Linked DNA regions of Homo sapiens: region 1 is linked to region 2. Evidence: promoter capture Hi-C in human tissues and cell types (Jung and others, 2019). All regions are on one chromosome and are shown on one strand. The core of a region is centred on a gene start or on the middle of the fragment in contact, and the rest is flanking DNA. Distances in the headings are between cores, read along the strand shown. Region 1 overlaps SLTM (SAFB like transcription modulator). Region 2 holds the start of ANXA2 (annexin A2).

Region 1 (5,688 bases), core at 2,906-5,405, 1.5 Mb after region 2:
TTTCCCCTGAAAGTTTCTCTCACTCTTTCGTGTAGTTTAATTGCTCATTTTTGAAGTCGGTTGATGAAATGACTGGCAATTCTAATGTCTTGAGGCTTGAGGTTTGCTAAATTTTTTTTCATTTCGTTTTTATAAAATAAGTTTAGATAGATTGTGTAGCATATTAACTTCTCTTTCTAATGTAGGCTATTGAAGAGGAAGGAGGCGATCCAGATAATATTGAATTAACTGTTTCAACTGATACTCCAAACAAGAAACCAACTAAAGGCAAAGGTTGTTACGAGTTATGAACATGTTTTAAAATATATTTTGGTTATATAACTTGCCTCTGCTCTTGTGCCTCTTGCCCTGTTTATATAGTGCTACTCTTTGCTATTTCCCTCTGGCAGTCTGCCTTCTTGGGTCAAGGAAGAAAAGTTACTGTTGCCAGGCTTTGGGTGACTTGTAGCCCTTAAGATTCGGCTGAAGCTGATTAGAAAGTGAGAACAGTTCTTTATTGCTTCCGGAAAAAATTACAAAGTCAAGTTGTGTAATGATGCTTCATAGTGTGAAGACCTGAATAAAATACAGTTTAACACATGTCTACCTTGCCCCACAATTGGCAGAGTTTTGATGGAATTCCTACCAAATCTTTTACCTTGCCTCCTTGCTGTTTTCTTTAGTATATTAAAATTCTATAACCTTTATGTTTAGTACTTTGTTTGACTTGGTGAACTTAATTTGCATTTATGCCATTATACCTCCTAATTTTTAGTGAAATTCAAAAAGACCTCACCAATCATACTAACAAGGTAGAGGGAAAAATCCATGATTAATTAGCTTAAAAAAGTTTTAAATTATAGGGATGTTAAAGATTCTTATTTTTAACTTTTAAGCTAGAGCAAAATATATTTATTTCTAGGATATAATGATTTAGTGACTAGCTAAAAGTGGTTTTAAATGAACGTTTTGCAGTATGAATGGAACTTAGGTATTTTTTAAAGCTTCTTGGTAAATGAAACCTTTATTTGAATAACTGCAAATTTCTCCCTCCTATAAGGACAGTGGCAGAGGGTGGACATGATATATCTGGATTCTGGTCTTTACCTACAATTTTCATGCAGAGTTTGTCATGAACAGCTGCTGCATTTTTTGTAATCTAATTTTCTTTACTGCTTTAAGTGATCCAAGTGTTACTCCCAACCACTGAATGATTGCAACTAAAATAAAATGAATGGATTAATATTGAAAAGGGAATATTAAATTTTGATCTTAAGCACACCTGGGTATCAGAGATGAGGACAACTCACTATTTTAAGTCTTCCTAGGTTAGGAGAGTCCCCTGTTTGTGCCAAAGGAAATTGAAAAGGGCTAATAAGCATTCCCTGGGAGAGGTGGGGATGTAGTTTAGAGAAGTAAAAAAGTTATCTTAAAGGTAGCTTTTAAGATAACTCTGACTCAGTGTATCACTTTGAGAGATACATTTTCTGTATTTAAAGAAGCTTGTCATGAGAAGACTGCCAACAAACCAGAGGCTATTTCAAAATGGAAAACGATAGAAATTCAGAAATAAGTATATCAGGAATTAACCATGTGTCTTGCAGTAGTTTTGATTCATATCTTTTACCTAGCATGCTGTGCTAGTTTGACAGGTACTGTGTATTAATCATAGTCCCAGGTTGTTTGAGTTGACTATTATTTTAGCATTGAAAATAAACATGATTTATTCCTTTCTCACCTACTTTTAATTTCTCTGTATATCCCTTTTTCAGTTTTGACTAGGAACATCATTTATCTCTTATTATTAGAAATAATTTCAGCAATATAAAATTTTAAGGGTTTTTTCAATACATTTTATGACAGGTATATATATCTATATATATGATATATAGATTATATATAGGTGTATATATATCATATATGATATATATATATATTTTTTAATAGGGTATTGCTCTGTTGCCCAGGCTAGAGTGCAGTGGTGCCTAGCTCTTTGCAGCCTCAAACTCCTGGGCTTAAGTGATCCCTCCCACCTTAGCCTCCCTGGTAGCTGGGACTACAGGCATGTGCCACCACAACATTTTAAATAAGTAAACATTATTTATTTTTATCAGTATGTTTGCTAATTTTTTTCTTTGTATGGGTTATACTTGAACTTTATTCCATAACTCTGATGTTAAGAGGTCTTAAGGTATTCAGTTAGAAGTTGTAACATTTGGGGGCCGGGTGCAGTGGCTCACGCCTGTAATCCCAGCAGTTTGAGAGGCTGAGGCGGGTGGATCACCTGCGGTCGGGAATTCGAGAGCAGCCTGGCCAACATGGCCAAACCCCATCTCTACTAAAAATACAAAAAAAAAAAAAAAAAAAATAGCTGGGCATGGTGGCGCGCGTGCCTGTAGTCCCAGCTACTCGGGAGGCTGGGGAGGCTGAGACAGGAGAATCGCTTGAACCCAGGAGGTGGAGGTTGCAGTGAGCTAAGGTCACTCCACTGCAGTCCAGCATGAGACCCCATCTCAAAAAAAAAAGAAGTTGTAACATTCAATCATTTGTTTGTAGCAGGCCTCATTCTAAGAGATGCATGACAAAAAGCTCTAGTCTTCTTGAAATCCGGCTATCATTGTTATGAAAATCTTGTGAATTACAAAGAATATAATGTAAATCTCCAACTCCAAACAGTTTGAATTAATTTACAATAAAGATGCTTATTGATTCAATTATTTTATTTTTATTATTTTTAATATGAGAGATTTTGAACCCAGTTTACTTATTAAAGAATGCTCTTGTCTCAAATTCCAAGCGCTACTGATCATCTTTAGAGCCAGTTTTGCTTAAATGCGTCATACCAACTCAGTTCTAGCCTTCTAAAATGGCAGAGTTCTAAAATGGCAGAGATGTTTTCTCTGCCATTTTACAAAGTGATAAGATTATTTTAGGCCGGGTGCAGTGGCTCATGCCTATAATCCCAAAAGGCCAAGGTGGGAGGATCGCTTGAGTCCAGTAGTTCAAGACCAGCCTGAGCAACATAGTGAGACCCTATCTCTATTTTAAAAAAGAATTAAGATGTTTAAATAATAACTTTTAGAAACCAAATTTGTATAGGGAAACTTATTAAAATATCAATAATGAACAGATTTGAAAACCAAGGATATATTAAATATTGTTTTAATGTGATGTCCGTTTTTCTTTTCTTTTCTTTTTTTTGAGATGGAGTTTCGCTCTTGTCACCCAGGCTAGAGTGCAATGGTGTGATCTCGGCTCACTGCAACCTCCGCCTCCCGGTTTCAAGCGATTCTCCTGCCTCAGCCTCCCGAGTAGCTGAGATTACAGGCATGCGCCACCACTCCAAACTAATTTTGTATTTTTAGTAGAGACGGGTTTCTCCAGTTGGTCAGGCTTGTCTTGAACTCCCAACCTCAGGTAATCCTCCCGCCTCGGCCTCCCAAAGTGAGCCACCGCACCTGGCTGATAATCAGTTTTTCAATCAAGTTGCTGAATTACTACATTCAATTCTTTTTGCCAGATCTTGTTTTACTTACTGGTATCTACATTGAAAATAATTTCATCTTGGTTATGCCACTTTTCCTTCAGTGCGCCTGTTTTCTCTTTTGTAAAACTGGAAATTTTACTAGGTCCCCTGTAAGGCTCTTTTAGTTCTGAAATTTAATAATTATATAGACAAAAATGAGAAGAAAATGCTTTCTGTTTAACTAAAATGATGTTTAAGGAAGCAACAGGTAAGCTCATAGGAAATCAGTATCGTTTTTCTTCAGCACAAATTATTAGAAAACGAAAAGTGCCAAGAAGGGGATTACGTAGAGGTAATTATGTAGACATCAGCGAGACATAATATATAATAGCTGGTCAGGAAAAGAAATGATTCTTATGACAATATTAAGGTAGTGAATAAAAGTTAAATGACGAGAAGCTTCATAGGTATGGAAAAAATACTTTGGTGAAACATTGAGCTTATTCTTTTATAAAATAACTATAGGGTAACTTTCTTTTAAAAATGTATGTTAAAATGATTCTATTTAGAGAGGTTAGAGGGAAAGGAACCTACATTTTTAAGTTTCTCCTAGAATATTTTTTAAATGCAGCTATTACAAGCACAAACAATGTTGATAATGTTATAGTGGGCTCTGACATTTATATCAACATATTTATAAAATTCCTTTACATGTAGTTAATAGAGTAGATGTTTGTATCTTAGAATGGCTTTCCTGAGTCTTCACACTCTCTTTGTTATGAACTTTTAAATAAGTAACTTAGGAGAAAGCTTCACCCATTGAAGTTTACGGTTATATTAATTGGGTGTGTGTTTAAAAAGTAGTTAAACAGGTAGAGCTAACTTCTCATTAGGTTGTTTTAGAGATTATAGATTTAAAGACTTTTGGTTTACCTGATGCTGGCATATCCTTTTCTTTTAAAATTTCAACCTTTAAAGTCACCAATTAACTTCAGCAAAAGTGATGTGGTTAATCAGTACAGTATTTAGAACTATATGTAATGCAATACTTACCGACATTAAAACTAATTTGCAATACCTGGCAGCTTTAAAAAGACTAAAAATGATGTGTACAATCTGATTTTTCTTCTATAGAAACAAATATATTTTGAGGTTATAGGTTTGGCCAAACATCTAATGTATAATTTTTTGTGGAAAATACCACAGACTACATATTTATAATTAAGTACATGTTTACTCTGTAAAGCTTTCTAAAACTGGTATCAATTAAATGTAGTAATCAGCCATATAAAGCACATTTCATATAACACAGTATCATAGTGTACTGTAATTAGCTTTTTTCCTCCAGCTGTAGTATGTTCAGATGTTAAGTAACACTTTAATCAGAACTGTGGCATTGAGGAGGACTTTGGGCGTATAATTGTTATAGATATTTCTTAGGTACCTGAAAGGCTGAAAGCTCTGAAGGCCAGGACATAGTTTTTCATTTACCTCTGTCTCTGTAATGCCTGGTGTAGAGCATGGCACGTAATAAGTGCTCAAAAAATATTTGTTGAATGAATACTGAGGGCCTTTTTGGGGCTTTCTTAACTGCTTTTAGAAATACCTCTTTTGGGCCAGGCGCATGGCTCACGCCTGTAATCCCAGTACTTTGGGAAGCTGAGGTGGGCGGATCACCTGATGTCAGGAGTTTGAGACCAGACTGGCTAACATGGTGAAACCCCGTTTTTACTAAAAATACAAAAAATTAGCTGGGCATGGTGTTTCGCATCTGTAATCCTCGCTACTTGGGAGGCCGAGGCAGGAGAATCTCTTGAACCTGGGAGGCAGAGGTTGCAGTGAGCTGAGATTGCGCCATTGCACTCCAGCTTGGGCAACAAGATCATCATCTTTAGATAATCTGTTCATCTTTAGAAACTTGGTCTCAAAAAACAGAAAACAAACAAAAAAAAGAAATATCTCTTTTGGTGCCTATTTTAATTGCATATTTCTTTGTAAGAAGCAGGTATATCAGGGATTAATAGTTTTTATCTTTTTTTTAAAGGTGCCTCTCTCAAGAGCATAATGGCTTCTCCTTACACATTGATATGTAAAATATACTTACTTTTAGAACACATGAATCATTGCATCATCCTTTTATTCTTTACCACATTGATGCTGTGTTGAAAAGCCTCTGAACCTTGCTGGAATACTGTCCAACCTCAGAGGTTGTATATGTCATTTTCATTTCACAAAATTAGCCC
Region 2 (5,719 bases), core at 580-3,079:
GTTTCTGACTTTGAAGCTTTCAGGCTAAATTGAAGAGCTATAAATGTAAATCAGCAATTGTACCCAAAGTGTTGCTTGATTTTCTATTTGGCTCTGTGGTAGGGCCCATCGCGTATAATTCCTCGTGAAAGCGCTGGGTAACAGAAAGCTTTGGGCGGGTTAAAAGACCTCAGCTGTGGCCGACTTTGCCTGTGTCACTCTATGCGAGTGGGCAGAGCACTGAATGTCTGTTGGCCTTGCTATCATTCTCTGATTCCCAGGAGTGAATTGACGCTCAAATGGAAAGTAAAAATGGATGTTAAGATAAATGGGAGATTGAAACACAGAATCATCAAAACCAGGAAAAAGAGCTGCAGGAAGTAGTGTGCAAGGAGGGGTTTAAAAAACGCAGCCAGAGATCCTCGGGATTCTCAGCGTCGCTTTCCTGTTAGTTTGAGGTTCGAATACAGTATTTGCGTCGTCTCACATACAACAAATAGGTGTCTGCCTGCACGTTGCCAACGTGACTCTTGGAAGAAAAGCGAGAAGCAGCAAAACCGAGCAAGGGAGTTGGCTAAACGGCTGCAAGAAACACACACACACACACACACACACACACACACACGGAAGAAAAGCGAGAAACAGCAAAACCGAGCAAGAGAGTTGGCTAAACGGCTGCAAGAAACACACACACACACACACACACACGGAAGAAAAGTGAGAAACAGCAAAACCGAGCAAGGGAGTTGGCTAACTGGCTGCAAGAAACTCTCTATCTCACTCTCTCTCTCTCTCTCTGTGCTGCAAGAAACTCTCTCTCTCTCTCTCTCTCTCTCTCTCTCGGAAGAAAAGCGAGTAACAGCAACACCGAGCAAGGGAGTTGGCTAAACGGCTGCAAGAAACACACACACACACACACACACACCACACACGCACACACACACCCCAGCAGTCATGAAAGAAGGAGAGGAAAGTTCTTTGTTGAAACTCCGGGTTCGAAACACACACACACACACACACACACACACACACACACACACACACACACACACGAAACTCCGGGTTCAAAGCTATGGGCCCCACCCCGCTCAGGACTGCCTGCTACGAGGCCGCGCAGAGATGCCCCAGGCGCGGAGAGAAGCGGAGCACAGCCGTGCTAGGGACAGGGGCGCCACCCTGGGCGGGACTGAGGTGGGATCCTGGCTCCCGGCTTTGGCCTCCCAGCCCAGGCTCGGGGCTTCCTGGCCCTCGGAGGCCGGGGCGGGCCAGGCTTTGCAGCACAGGGCGAATCTCCCTCCCTCCCCGGGCGCCCCCCGGGAACTGGCGGCCAGAGGTTAAGCTGACATGTTTGCAGACGGTAATGGGGCGCTGGATGCCAACAGCCCCAGCTCAGGGGAGTCCAGATTTATGTTTCTTGGAACAATTCTTTCCTCCATTGCATTAACGCCAAAAAAAAAAAAAAAAAAAAAAAAACACTTAATCAAGCCCAGAGTCTACTACTAAAGTCTTGTTAATTTATTAACCCAAGCCGAGGCTGAGAGCTCGACGTGGCACTTAAGAAGTAAAATGAGGAAAGGAGGAAGAAACGGGGTCCCTGTGGGCCTCGGGGCAGCCTCGGCCGGGCTTTCTCGGAGGGCAGGGCCAGGGGCGCTGGGGCCGCTCCCGCGTGGCGCGGCTCGGGAGCGTTCCAGGGCGCGGTCCCTGCGGGCCGGCGGGCCGGGGTGAGTCACCCCTGACTTGGGGTGGGAGCGGGCCGTGTAAGGGGGAGGCGGGGCGGGGCGGGGCGGGCCTCGCCTCGCCTAGGGAGGATGTGGCGGGTATAAAAGCCCCACCCAGGCCAGCCGGCTCTGCTCAGCATTTGGGGACGCTCTCAGCTCTCGGCGCACGGCCCAGGTAAGCGGGGCGCGCCCTGCCCGCCCGCGATGGGCCGCCAGCTAGCGGGGTGTGGAGACGCTGGGAAGAAGGGTACGGCCTGGCAGGGAGGCCCCGGCAACTGGCCCCGGAGGCCGTCGGGGGCAGGGGGCTGAAGGGACGGCCGGCACTGGAGAGTCTTTGGGGAGGGGGCTCAGGGACAAGGTGTTTGGGGCAGGGGTGAGGGGCCACCGGCCCTCGGGCCGGGAGGGTGCAGGGCAGAGGTGGTGGGGGGTCGGGCTTCTCTAAGAAGCCCTAGCGGGAGCGGGGCGAGGCGGCGTGGGGAGAGGGGCGGAGGGAGGCCCCGCATTCCAGACGCGCCAGGCGCCGCCGAGGCAGGGCGTGGCCGCCCAGGGAGCCGCAGGTCCCCGGCGCAGCAGTAGCAAGTGGGCTTTCCACTGCCCTCTAGAAAGTGCCCCCCATCTGCTCTAAGTTACTGTACTCGAAACAAACGCGCGCTTGTGGAGTTGAACCGACCAGCAGGAGGGAAGTAGCGGGGGAAGACGAGAGGGGGGAGTGTGAGTAGGCACCCCTCAGCCCCCCATAAAAGAAGACATTAAAACGTCAGTTATTCCCCTTGCTCTAGGTTATCTTGTAGCATAGCAACTTCGGATTTCACTCTACCCGGAGAGTTTCCCGCTTGGTTGAACACATTGGCCTCAGGAAGGTAGTGTCCCCCATGATTCTGTGGGGAGGGTTGTCCTGTTACTCGCCATGATGTGACAATGAGTCAGGAACTGAGAGTAGAGAGAAGGGCGTGGCCCCGGGGCCTCTCCCTTCTGGCCGCTCTGTGCAGCTGGCCCCACTGCTGGTGTGGAGGGCTTGGGTTCCATCAGCCGGCTGTTGAGAAGAAGGAGGGGAACACAGATAAGTTTCCTCATCTGGGAAGGTGGCTTAAGGATGCCTATTCTTACCACCACCCAGAGTTATTGGAGATTTCAAAAAACACAGTCATTAGGTAATAAATGTGTAAAGTACACAAAAAACAAAGTGCTGTGCAAATGCAAAGTGTCATTTTTGTAGTAAGATTGCCGTTTTAAAGCTGTGGGTGTTCTGAGTGCGTGTGTAAAAGAGCAGTGGCCTCATGGGTGCACGCTGGGCCATTACCAAGAACCTTAAGTTGTTGGTGTGCAAAGGCCTGGGCCCCAGACTGTACTGATGGATTCTGTTCACACGTGTGTGCTACTGTGCCTGTCTGGAACTTGGTGACTTGGAATGCAGAATGCACTTTCCCACTGAAACAGTGTTGCAGAAGGTGCTGACGTTCCCAGGCTAGCCCTGAAAGACCTTTTTAACATGCACTGCCTGATTATGGGATTGGTGGTGGGGAGGTGGAGGGTAGTGAGGGGCAATGTGTGTGTAGGAAGACTAAATCACTGAAATATTTTTCTGGAACTTTTTTTAGCTTTAAGGTTGACACTGAGTAAATTATTTTAATTGGAAAATTATGTCTTTGCCCCTGTTCCACTTTCTTTTTTCCACCTTCCACCTCCTTAGAGACGCTCTTCTGGCTCTTCCGTGACGCATTACAACAGCCATCCAGGCCGGTCCAGTTACGCTGCATTCCTTCCTCCTTCCCATTTCGGCGGACCTGCATCCAGCTAGAGACTAGCAGATTGAATCGATATTCATTAAGTTAGGAATGGTTGGTGGTCCTAAGAGCCTCAGCAACCGAGAGGAGTCTTGTTATTTAAAAAACAACGATACTGGGCGTGGTCGTGGGCCTGTAGTCCCAGCTGCTCAAGCTAGTGGATCTCTTGAGTCCAAGGCCAATGTGAGCAACATAGCAAGACCCAGTCTCAAAAAATAAATACATAATAATAATAAAAAACCCTCGTTCACCTAAACAGATCTATAATTTATAGAATGTAAAGCAGCAATATTCAGGCAATATTAAGGAAGATTTTTGGTAAGACTGGGGCAGCAGAGGTGCCCTTGATGGGCAAGGGCCAGGAGTGTTAACACAGTCCTGCTTAGTAATTTCTTCCCTTCTTCCAAGTCTGTCGATTATCTAAAGGTCAAGGGTTTGTCCAAAAATGTCCCTTGCATCTGCAGTGGAAGGATGTGACATGTATGTGCATTTTTACAATTGGAGGTTTGTGATTTGGAGACCGTTTAGATTTTGTAATTTCCCGCAGTGCCAACTAGACTGCCTGTGGTAAATGCCCAGGAAATATTGCTGACTCACTGACTTTGATTAGGAGCTCAGTCTTGCACTGGAGTCTCAATATTTAGCATCTTGTGTCTTTGAGCTATTAAACTATGGTATTGATTGACATTAGGCTCGCAGTCATGGCCGTTAGTTTCCTGGCTAATTTCTGATTTAAGTAGTTTTCCTGGCAAAGTAGATGTGCTTCTATAATTGCTATTGATTTTGAGGGCTGTAGGCTCTTCCTACACCACTGGGCCTAGAATCTGGCACTAATGCATTGTCTGGAGCCTTTGTTCTCACCCTTCGCTTGTGCAGAGCCTGGAGCCTGCGGAGACATTTTTCATTAAAGGAGAGCGGGATTGTCACAAAAGGAGTCTCAGGCTCTAGTGGGCTGCTTTAAACAACCATTTATTCCACAAAATATTAATTACCTACTGTGTTCCACTCATAGTTATGAGCACTAGGGATACAGCAGTGAACAAAACAGACCCCCGCCAAAAATAAAATCCCTGCTCTTTAGACCTTAAATCTGGCGGAGAGAGAAGGAAAAGAGACAAAATAAGTGAATTGTTGGATTTTAAACTTTATATTTTCCCAAATTAATACTAGTTTCTAAACTTGGTGGGAGTTCATTTCCCCTTTAATCCAGCTGTTCCACAGACCTAAACTTCACATTTTACCTACCTCGGGGAAGTTTTGCTTAAAATTATGGTGTCTTAAGCTGCCTTCCAGATTCAATTGTGAGAATTAAATAGAAATGGAATGTTCCTCTTTTTTTTCACATGAGAATCCTCTTCACTTGCCCTGGTGCCACACCCTATTCTAGTTGTAGGCCACACCAGAGGAAATTCCAGTCCTTCAAAAAAATTCTTTCCACCCATTCACTGCCTGGTATCTTTTTTCTTCTGCTGTTGCCAGAGGCAGTCCTCATCTACTTTCTCCAGGGACAGGTCAGCAGTAGGGGTCAGGAGATGCCCATATTTGTCCTTCTGGGTGGTTCTACCAGATGACTTCCAAATCTCCCTTCTAGGGTACACCCTGAAGCTGTTTTTTTTTTTCTTTTTTTTTTCTTTTGAGATGGAGCCTGGCTCTGTCACCCAGCCTGGAGTGTAGTCGCACGATCTCTCCTCACTGTAGCCTCCGCCTCCCAGGTTCAAGTGATTCTCCAGCCTCACCCTCCCGAGTAGCTGGGATTACAGGTGCCTACCACCATGCCGGGCTAATCTTTGTATTTTTAGTAGAGACAGGGTTTCATCATGTTGGCCAGGCTGGTCTGGAACTGTTGAGCTCAAGTGATCCGCCTGTCTCGGCTTCCCAAACTGCTGGGATTACAGGCGTGAGCCACTATGCCTGGCCCACCCTGAAGCTTTTAATCCAGCTGAGCTCAACTGGACAGGTCGGTAGCACCCAAGTGGCCTGAGTTTTACCCCAGGTGTGGTGTAGAAATTTCTTATTCTAGGGAGTGACTGTGTTATGGAGCCCTTTGTCCATGTCCTTTGTCTCCCTGCCACACCCAGGCTATACACTCACAGCTCAGAGGAAATCAGAGTCCTAAGGCCACTCGTACATCCTGCCTCTTTGCTGCCTTCTTGCTAGGAGTTGTAGGTTACGTTCCCATGTGGTCCTATGGACAGAGCTAGGGTCCAAGTATCCCTGACAGCACAGAGGTGGGGGGCA

The links. The method cuts DNA at HindIII sites, captures the fragments that hold promoters and counts their contacts. A contact is called where the count stands out against the background at its distance.
Region 1: a contact is called between a fragment that was not itself captured here and the fragment with the promoter of ANXA2 in region 2, in 1 of the 25 tissues and cell types used here (aorta).

Annotation. Positions count from the first base shown.
Region 1 is chr15:58,926,941-58,932,628 of GRCh38, reverse strand. It overlaps SLTM (SAFB like transcription modulator), which reads left to right. Exons shown (of 21, transcript NM_024755.4): 2 at 186-273. Among named protein-coding and RNA genes, the nearest start is that of SLTM, 3.9 kb to the left of the region's middle. RefSeq lists an enhancer at 4,748-5,247. The HindIII fragment of the contact is 5,846 bases long and covers 1,233-5,688 here.
Region 2 is chr15:60,394,096-60,399,814 of GRCh38, reverse strand. ANXA2 (annexin A2) reads left to right here and starts at 1,829. Exons shown (of 13, transcript NM_004039.3): 1 at 1,829-1,872. RefSeq lists silencers at 1,097-1,406, 1,527-2,066, 2,137-2,276 and enhancers at 2,437-2,626, 2,647-2,696, 2,757-2,806, 2,300-2,891, 2,892-3,483. The HindIII fragment of the contact is 12,062 bases long and covers 1-2,778 here.